2 separate regions of the Homo sapiens genome follow, and region 2 is linked to region 1. The links are contacts of gene promoters, found by promoter capture Hi-C in blood cells and fetal thymus (Javierre and others, 2016). All regions are on one chromosome and are shown on one strand. The core of a region is centred on a gene start or on the middle of the fragment in contact, and the rest is flanking DNA. Distances in the headings are between cores, read along the strand shown.

Evidence for each region. Contacts are between HindIII fragments. The CHiCAGO score rates a contact against its expected background, and 5 or more counts as called.
Region 2: the fragment with the promoter of ZDHHC1 here is called in contact with the fragment with the promoter of PDP2 in region 1 in 6 of 17 cell types (naive B cells, activated CD4 T cells, M0 macrophages and 3 more); the score reaches 10.8 in naive B cells.

The regions. Positions count from the first base shown.
Region 1 is chr16:66,878,218-66,883,010 of GRCh38, reverse strand. It overlaps PDP2 (pyruvate dehydrogenase phosphatase catalytic subunit 2), which reads right to left and starts at 2,496. Exons shown (of 2, transcript NM_020786.4): 1 at 2,371-2,496. RefSeq lists a silencer at 2,043-2,222 and enhancers at 1,682-2,454, 2,703-2,782. The HindIII fragment of the contact is 2,608 bases long and covers 1,465-4,072 here.
Region 2 is chr16:67,414,972-67,419,632 of GRCh38, reverse strand. It overlaps ZDHHC1 (zDHHC palmitoyltransferase 1), which reads left to right and starts at 3,156. Exons shown (of 12, transcript NM_001323627.2): 1 at 3,156-3,462. It overlaps LOC124903702 (a long non-coding RNA gene), which reads right to left and starts at 3,730. Exons shown (of 2, transcript XR_007065093.1): 1 at 3,490-3,730. RefSeq lists an enhancer at 2,610-3,267 and a silencer at 3,100-3,489. The HindIII fragment of the contact is 9,596 bases long and covers 1-4,661 here.

The DNA.
Region 1 (4,793 bases), core at 1,247-3,746:
AAAAAATTTTTTTACAAATTAGTTGGGCATGGTGGCGCACACCTATAGCCCCATTCACTTGTAAGGCTGAGGTGAGAGGATTGCTTAAGCCCTGGAGGTCAAGACTGCAATGAGCTGTGCTCCTGCCACTGCACTCCAGCCTGGGCAACAGAGCAAGACCCTGTCTCAAAAACTAAATTTTATATACATGTATATTTCCCCACTAGTCTATAAACTCCATGACTCAAGCAACTATGGCTGCCTTACTCACCAACAGCTTTCCAGTGCCTGGCCCTGTACCCGGCACACACTAAGTCCTCAAATACTGGCTAAATATGACATTTTCAGAGGCCCAATAGCACACTAGCTGTGATACTATCTTGTGTAGCATCAGACACACTGCTGATGAGGTAACACTCCAGTTATCTATTGGTGGAATGGGAATATTAGTCTTAGAAGGTTTTGTGAGAATTTAATAAAATATGACGCTTCTGCTAAAAAAAAAAAAGTAGCTATTATTTTCATCATTAGGTATATACCCCTCTAAGTCATTCTGGGTATTTTTTGTTTGGTTTTTTTTTGTTTTGTTTTGTTTTTGAGATGGAGCCTGGCTCTGTCCCCAGGCTAGAGTGCAATGGTAAGATCGTGGCTCACTGCAGCCTTGCCCTTCTGGCCTCAAGGGATCCTCCTGCCTCAGCCTCCTACATAGCTGGGACTACAGGCATGTGCCGCCAGGCCCAGCTAATAGACAGGGTCTCCCCGTGTTTTCCAGGCTGGTCTCAAACTCCTAGGCTCAAGCGATCTTCCGCCCTTGGCCTCCCAAAGTGCTGAGATTACAGGTGGGAGCTACTGCGCACAGTCATTCTGTACGTATTTTTGTAGAGTTGTAACCCCAACTTTGAATCTGGCTTTCCTGATAAGAGTATTTTTTCACATCTGATGGCTACATTTTGACATAAATAATCACAACTTACTTAACTATTCTTTACGGCTGGAAATTTAGAGGTTGTTTCTACTACTTGCTATTTATTAATATAAAATACCAAACTGGACTGGGCACAGTGGCTCATGCCTATAATCTCAGCATTTTGGGAGGCCAAGGCAAGAGGATCACTTGAGGCTAGGGAGTTTAAGACCACCCTGGGTGATACAGCAAGTGCCCCATCTCTACAAAAATTTTTAGATTAGCTGGGCATGGTGGTAAGTGCCTGTAGTCCCAGCTACTCAAGAGGCTGAGGTGGGAGGATCGCTTGAGCCCAAGATTTCAAGACTGCAGTGAGCTATGATCACACCACTGCACTCCAGCCTGGGCGACAGAGCCAGATCTGTCTCTTTAAAAACAACAACAACAACAAAACCCCACCAAACTGTACTGCTTTATGCAGTAACCTTTTCTCTACTTAGGTTTTATCCTAGTTATTTCCCAAACAAGGAGTCAGTAGGTCCAAGGGTGTAGACTCATTGCCAAACTGATTTCCAAAAGCTTCACATCTGCCTCCTCAAGGGGGTGACGAGTTTCCTAGTCCCTTCACTAGCCCTGGTGGTACTTTTCCTTGGAATATAATAAATTAAATTAAATTAAATTAAATTAAATTAAATTAAAAAAAAAAAAACAGAACAAAACCTTGACCCATTATAATGAGCTTTTCATGTATGAATCCTGCCCTCGGGATCTCGAGATCATTTGTCGGGACCTCAAGAGTTCCCAGGACTGAGGACCGTCCCTTCACTCCCCCACCCCCTGCCAGCCCACCCCGCAGAAGTCGGTGCGGGGGCGGTCTGTCCGGGAGCAGAGGGCGCCTGACGCTCCGGCCCTGCAGTCAAGGCAGGCAGCGGTGCAGGGTGATACACCGCAGCCAGGACGCAAACCCTCTTGCATCCTTAAAGAAAACAGACAGGTCCCAAGTTCAAATCTCTGACTTCAGCCTCATCGCTAAGTGCATGGACTCCGGAGCCCACCAAAACCGATCTCCCTAGAACCCCGGCACGGCCGTACCCCAGCTGGGTGCCCCCGGGCGACCCGCTTGGTGCCTCTGAGCCCCGGCTTGCCAGCCTGTAAAACAGGGGCGTGCAGTCGGGACACAGAGCTCCAAGGGGTGCTCGATAGGCCAGAGCAGCTAGTGGGGTGCCCCGGTAGGCAGCCAAGGGTCCTCGGCGAGCCCGCGGGCCCACGTGGCGCGCGCACGTGAGTGGGGTGACCGTGGTCGTAGGCCCAGCTGGTCCCTCTCCGCCGCGGACCCGCCCCCTCACCTCAGCTCTCCCTCCGCCCAGTCACCTGAGCCGGTGCCGCAGGCCGGGAGGGTCAGGCGCCGGCGAGGCCTGGCGGGGAAAGAGGTGTCCACATCCCCCGCTCGTTACCTTCCCTACCTCGGACCCTCGCCCGCTTCTCACCAGCTGGCGAGGCCACAGCCGCCCGCTCCGTCCGGTCAGTTCAGCGCCTGCGCACAGTGCCACAACTGCGGCCACCAGGTCCTCACCTCACCCAGGCGGTCCCTAGTCAGGACCCAGCTCCAGAAGGAAGCGCCCTCCCGCCAGCCCTGGTTGGCTCAATTGCGGAGGCGGGCCCTTGATGGACAGAGGTATTGCCCAATGGCTAAAGAGGATGAGAGGCGGGCAGAAAGGCGGGACCCGGGAGGGGGCAACACCGCCCCTTACCCCCTGCCTGGGTGCTGAAAGTGTTCGAGCGCGGGGCCACAGGACCAGGCAGTCACGTGCCTGAGATCGCCAGCTACGTGGCCGCTACACTCTGCATACCCCGAACCCAGCGGCCTCCCCAATTCCTCACCGTTGTTAGAACACCTCACTGCTTCCTCTCCACTTCGGTGTCGACCACTCCAGAACCCTCTCTTGAGCGCCACACCCTGATGTCCAGCCACCTGGACACCTGCCTCTGGAGGCCCCCAGGCGCCTCAAACATAACTTACCCCAAACTCAGCTTTCTGCCAAACTTGCTTTTTCTCTTCTCTCCTAACCCAGTAATGGCCCCACCATCTGCCCAGAGACCCAAGCCAAAACCCTGGGAGGCATCTTGACTCCTTCCTCTCCCTCACCCTCTCTTTCCAGTTATCTAATGCTGTAAATCCTATCTCCTAAATCTCTCTCCACTCATCCATCCGGCGACGCAGCCACCCTATTCCAAGCCTCTCACTTGATTTTACGGTTTTCCCTCCTCCACCTTTGACTTGGTCCTAACCACAGAGCAGAGCAGCCAGAATGACGCCCCTCCCACCTTTTCTCGTGGTTGGTGGGTAGAGACAAGGTCTTTCTATGTTGCCCAGGCTGGTCTCAAACTGCCGGGCTCAAGCAATCCTCCCACCTCAGCCTCCCCAAAGTGCTGGGATTACAGACGTGAGCCATCACGCCTGGCAGAATGACACTTCTAAAACTCAAATTCCAAGGCCGAGTGCGGTGGCTCCTGCCTGTAATCCCAGCACTTTGGGAGGCCGAGGCGGGGGGATCTCCTGAGGTCAGGAGTTTGAGACCAGCCTGGCCAACATCACGAAACCGTCTCTACTAAAAATACAAAAATTAGCTGGGAGTGGTGGTGCGCGCCTGTAGTCCCAGCTACCTGGGAGGCTGAGGCATGAGAATCATTTGAACCAGGGAGGTGGAAGTTGCACTGAGGTGAGATCATGCCACTGCACGCCAGCCTGGGAGACAGAGTGAGAGTCTGTCTCAAAAAAAACAAAAACAGAAACAAAAACAAACCAAAAAAACCCTCAAATTCCTGCCCTAAAGTCTTTTTTTTTTTTTTTTTTTTTTTTTTTTGAGACGGAGTCTCGCTCTGTCGCCCAGGCTGGAGTGCAGTGGCGGGATCTCGGCTCACTGCAAGCTCCGCCTCCCGGGTTCACGCCATTCCCCTGCCTCAGCCTCCCAAGTAGCTGGGACTACAGGCGCCCGCCACTACGCCCGGCTAATTTTTTGTATTTTTAGTAGAGACGGGGTTTCACCGTTTTAGCCGGGATGGTCTCGATCTCCTGACCTCGTGATCCGCCCGCCTCCGCCTCCCAAAGTGCTGGGATTACAGGCGTGAGCCACCGCGCCCGGCCTCCTGCCCTAAAGTCTTTAGTGGTTTCCCACAAACCATTAAGCTTTGAACTGACCATTATATTGGCCTGCTACTGACAATTAACTCAGCACGGCTGGCGGCTGGTAGGTTGAGAGAGACAGCGAACCCCGACACCAGATAATCCCTCCGTCCCTTCTGGTCCTAACATTGTGGCATTCCAGTGATGACCTGCTTCCTTATAAATTATTTTCACAGAACTCTTGTAACTATGGTAAGTCAGATGGAGTCCTTCCCTGGAGACAGAGAAAAATGGGAGACAACCAGAAAAAGCCACTTGGAGCCCTGAGAGTGTGGTTTTCCAGAAGGAAGACACCCTGGCTTACCTGGGCAGCCTGGCCAGCCTCCTGGACCCAAGGACGTGGTCACAATAAAACTGCTCATGTCAGACTTGCCCTTGTATATTTATAGTTCCACTCACCCTTAGCCCTTTCCAGAAGTTCAAAGTCAGGACTGGCAATATCTCTCTTCCTGCATATTAAGAGGACTGTTTCAGACCCAAACTAAAAAAAAGTCTAAGGGTTTCTAATAAATGAGTGCAAGAGAATGCAAAAGCACACTTCTTCCCTCCCCCCAGCAGACAGGTCATATAGGGTCACAACGGGTTACCCTTCCGGACAGAGGCAGCAGTGTTTAATTATTCAATCTGCAGGTGTTATGGGTGCCCACAATGTGTCAGGCCCTGGGCTGACTGCTGAGACACACAGATGGCGGCCCCCGCCACTTTCCTGAGAAAAATTACATCATT
Region 2 (4,661 bases), core at 1,907-4,406, 540 kb before region 1:
TGTTAGGGAGAACTGGAGGCTGCTGCAGGCTCAGCAAGGAAGATGCTGGTGGTCTGGGCTGGGGTGGAGCAGGAAGAATGGACACAGAATGTGTTTCAGAGTGAGGGCAGCCTGGTCACAGGCACTATCTGGTTTAGGTGGGCAAGGACTAGCAGGAGAGACATGGGAAGATGCCTAAGTGTACAGATGGGCTTACTGGGTAGATGGTGGTGCCCTTCAGAGGGCCCAAGGGGAGGAGCAGATTTGTGGCAAGGACAAAGAGGACATGTGGGGATGTGTTACATCCCAGACACCAATGGGACATCCAGGAGAGAAGCCCCTGAGTCAAGTGGATCCAGGGTCTTTTGGGTCCCTCCCCTTATTATGGGAATATATGGATTCATCTTTCACTTTGTTTTTTAATTTTTATTTGTATTTGCATTTATTTATTTATTTAAAGACAGAGTCTTGTTCTGTCGCCTGTAAGGAGTGCAATGGCACAATCTCGGCTCACTGCAACCTCTGCCTCCTGGGTTCAAGCGATCCTCCCATCTCAGCCTCCCGAGTAGCTGGGATTACAGGCGCAGACCACCATGCCCGGCCAATTTTTGTATTTTTGGTAGAGACAGGGTTTCGTCATGTTGCCCAGGCTGGTCTCAAACTCCTGACCTCTAGTGATCTGCCTGCCTCGGCCTCCCAAAGTGCTCAGATTACAGGTGTGAGCCACCATGCCCAGTCCCACCTTGTTTTTTAAAATATTTATTTATTTATTATTATTTTTTAAAGAGATAAAATCTGACCGGGCACAGTGGCTCATGCCTGCAATCCCATGGTGGCAGGCAACTGTAATCCCAGCTACTCGGGAGGTTGAGGCAGGGGAATCGCCTGAACCCGGGAGGTGGAAGCTGCAGTCAACTGAGATCGCACCACTGCACTCCAGCCTGGGAGACAGAGCGAGACTCCGTCTCAAAAAAAAAAAAAAAAGAGAGAGAGAGAGAGATAAGATTTTTTTTGTGTGTGACAGAGTCTCACTCTGTCACTCAGGCTGGAGTAGAGTGGTGCGATCTCGGGTCACTGCAACCTCTGCCTCCTGGGTTCAAGCCATTCTCTTGCCTCAGCCTCCCGAGTAGCTGGGACTACAGGCACATGCCATCACGCCTGGCTTACTTTGTACTTTTAGTGGAGATGGGGTTTCACCGTGTTAGCCAGGATGGTCTCGATCTCCTGACCTCATGATCCACCTGCCTTGGCCTCCCAAAGTGTTGGGATTACAGGTGTGAGCCACTGAGACCAGCTGAGAGATAAGATCTTACTTTCACCCAGGCTGGAGTGCAGTGGCATGATCGTAATTCACTGCAATCTTGAACTCCCGAACTCAAGTGATTCTTTTCTCCTGCCCCAGCCTCGTGAGTAGCTGGGACTATAGGCACAGGCCACCAGGCCCAGCTATTTTTTTTCATCTTTTGTAGAGATGGGAGTCTCTCTATGTATCCCAGGCTGGTCTCAAACTCCTGGCTTCAAGTGATTTTCCTGCCTCAGCCTCCTTAAAGTGCTGGGATTACAGGTGTGAGCCACTGCATCCAGCCTCATCCTTCACCTTGATTTCTGGGTCATGATCTCTGTTTGACCCGAAGTTTTCCAATTCCAGATAAGAGTTAAGTAGTCAGCTTGTACTCTGAAGCCAGAATAGCATTGATATTTATCTCACATTGAGTTTGAGTTTATCAGTCTTGAAAACAAGAATTTAAGTAATAGGTTATGTCACTTGCACAAGGACCCACACACCTGTCATGTGACAGAGAAGGAGTAGTTATGTTGCCTAATAAAACATACAATAAGTATGCTTGTGACTTATACATTTTAGAGATAAGGATGTTTTCTTTCCCTATCTGTCATATCTGCCTTGGAGATGCGCACAGGACAGATAGCAGAAGACAAAGTGTCTTCCTGTCTTTTGAGAAAGCCTGAGCTCATAGAAGATTCCATTCTGAGTGTCCACAAGGAGAAGAGGAGAGGGGACTTTTAGGGAAACCAAGTTAGCAGGGAAGTCTCCCAGGTAGAGAAAGGGAAGGGAGGCTGCAGGCCATGGAGCAGAGGAAGCAGGTGTCTGTCCCTGGCAGCCCCAGGGAGAGGCAGGGGCCTCAGGCAGGGATGGCCTCATAGAGCCCAAACCTGAAAATCTTTGTGGACTGGAGCAATGGTTGTGGCCTCAGTACCAGACAAAACCCTGACCAGAGAGTTTTTTGCTTATTTGTTTTTGATTGTTGTTTTTTGCTATAGGAAAACATGAGTCCTTTGGAATTACCTAGCTAAAAGGAGTACAGTGGAGACTGAGACTGAATTTCCCGGCCGGGCAGGGGCTCACGCCTGTAATCCTAGCACTTTTGGAGGCTGAGGTGGGCGGGTCGCTTGAGTTCAGGAGTTCGAAACCAGCCTGGGCAACATGGCAAAACCACGCCTCTACAAAAAAATGCGAAAATTAGTCGGGCGTGGTGGTGTTCGCCTGTAGTCCTAGCTACTCTGGAGGCTGAGGCGGGAGGATCGCCTGAGCCCAGGAGTTCGAGGCTGCAGAGAGCCGTGATCGTGCCACTGCACTCCAGCCTGGGTAACAGAGACCAGTTTAAAAAATAGAAAAAGACTGAATTTCCCATCAGCCTGGAAGATTGGGGCTTGATTTTTGCTTGATTTAAAGGCAATAAATAAATGAGATATTTTGTGCTGCTTATTTTAAGCTCTTACGCTTCTCGCTTTATATTCTGGGGTACCTGCATTTTTAGTGGTGTAATTTATTTGTCTAGATCTGTTTGCCTCTTAACCTGTAAGCTCCCGGAAGGGTCGGGATATCATGGATGTTCCAGCACATACGCTCATTGAAGTGTGCAGGTTGACTGGGGTTGGGGGAGGTCTCTTCTTGAGAGCGGTGGTCTCAGGATAGAAACTGGAAGGGGGCGCTTTTGAGATGTTAGGATTTCGGGGAGACAAGCTGTGACTCGGGAGTAGGGAAAAGCGGATTTTCTAGACGAAAGGTTAGGAAGAATCTGGGAATGGGCCGACTGGGGCACCAAGAGGGTCCCTGGCAAGCCCCGCCCTGGCCGGGGGACCGGCGCGGAGTGACGCAGCGCGGTTTGGCCGCTGTGGGGCGCCGTAGCCCGCGCCGTTGTCAGGGGAACGGGCCCAGCGCCGGACGAGGCCCAGCCAGTCTGGGTCTGGCCTGGCCGCCCCTCCAGCCTGCTGGAGCCGGAGCCGGAGCCGGAGCCGGAGCCGGAGCCGGAGCCAGAGCCAGAGCTCGAGGACTCACCGGCCCAGTCTCCGTCCGGGATGGGGCCCCGCTCCCGGGCGCGTTGCCGCCCAGTCCCGGGGACCGTCCCTACCGCGAGGGTCTGAGGCGCGGCTGCCCCGGGGAGGGTGGAAGGCCAGGCGTGGGGCCCGAACCTCTGGCTGACTTTGGCAGGGCCCATCTGGCACGGCCTCCGCGGCGCGCAGGTGAGGAGTCCCCGCCCGGTTTCTCACCTCGGAGCCTGGCTTGAGCCACGGGGTAGCGGATGCTGCCGCCTGGCCGGCTTTGGGCTCGCTTCCGCCTGGAGCCGGTGGCCTGAGTTCCAGGGCCCCGGCAGAGCGCGGGGCTTCCTTTTAGCATGCATCAAGTTCACAGATCTTCCTTGAGCGCTTACTCTTTGCCAGGCTCTGTGCCAGGCGTGGGCACAGAGGACTCCCAACAGACGTGGTCTGTCTCCAGAACCCAGAGCATTAAGGAAGGGGGCTGGGAAGCGGATGTCATACATGACTAAAGTGATTTCAGGTCGGGTTAGGCTCTCTGGTATTGAAATGGAGGGGTTGGTCATGGAGGGTCTGTTTTAAAAGGAAACCATGGGAAGAGTTTTAGTTTTTTCTTTGAGACGGAGTTTCGCTCTTGTCACCCAGGCTGGATGGAGCGCAGTGGCACGACTCGGGTCATTGCAACCTCCGCCTCCCGGGTTCAAGCCATTCTGCTGCCTCAGCCTCTGGAGTAGCTGGGATTACAGGCGCCCGCCGCCACGCCCGGCTAAGTTTTATATTTTTAGTAGGGACGGGGTTTCACCATGTTGGCCAGGCTGTTCTCGAACTCCTGACCTCAGGTGATCCACCCGCCTCGGCCTCCGAAAGCGTTGGGATTACAGGTGTGAGCCACCGTTCCCAGCCAATTTTTTATTTTTTTGAGACAAGGTCTCCCTTTGTCACCCAGGCTGGAGTGCTGTGGTGTGAACATGGGTCACCGCAGGCTCCGGCTCCCGGGCTCAAGCGATCCTCCCGCCTCAGCCTCCCAAGTAGCTGAGACTACAGATACCCGCCACCACGCTCAGCTAATTTTTTAAGGTTTTGGTAGAGATGAGGTCTTACTATTTTGCCCAGGCTGGTCTCGAGCTCCTGGTCTCAAGGGATCCTCTTGCCTCAGCCTCCCAAAGTGCTGGGATTACAGGTGTGAGCCACTGCAAGCGGCAGAAGAGTTTTTTATTTTTTGTTTATTTTTATTTTTATTTTCCAGATGGAGTCTCGCTCTGTCACCCAGGCTGGACTGCAATGGCACAATCTCGGCTCACTGCAACCTCCACCTCCCGGGTTCAAGCGATTCTCCTGCCTCAGCCCCCCAAGTCTGGGATTACAGGCGCCTGCCACCACACCCAGCTAATTTTTGTATTTTTAGT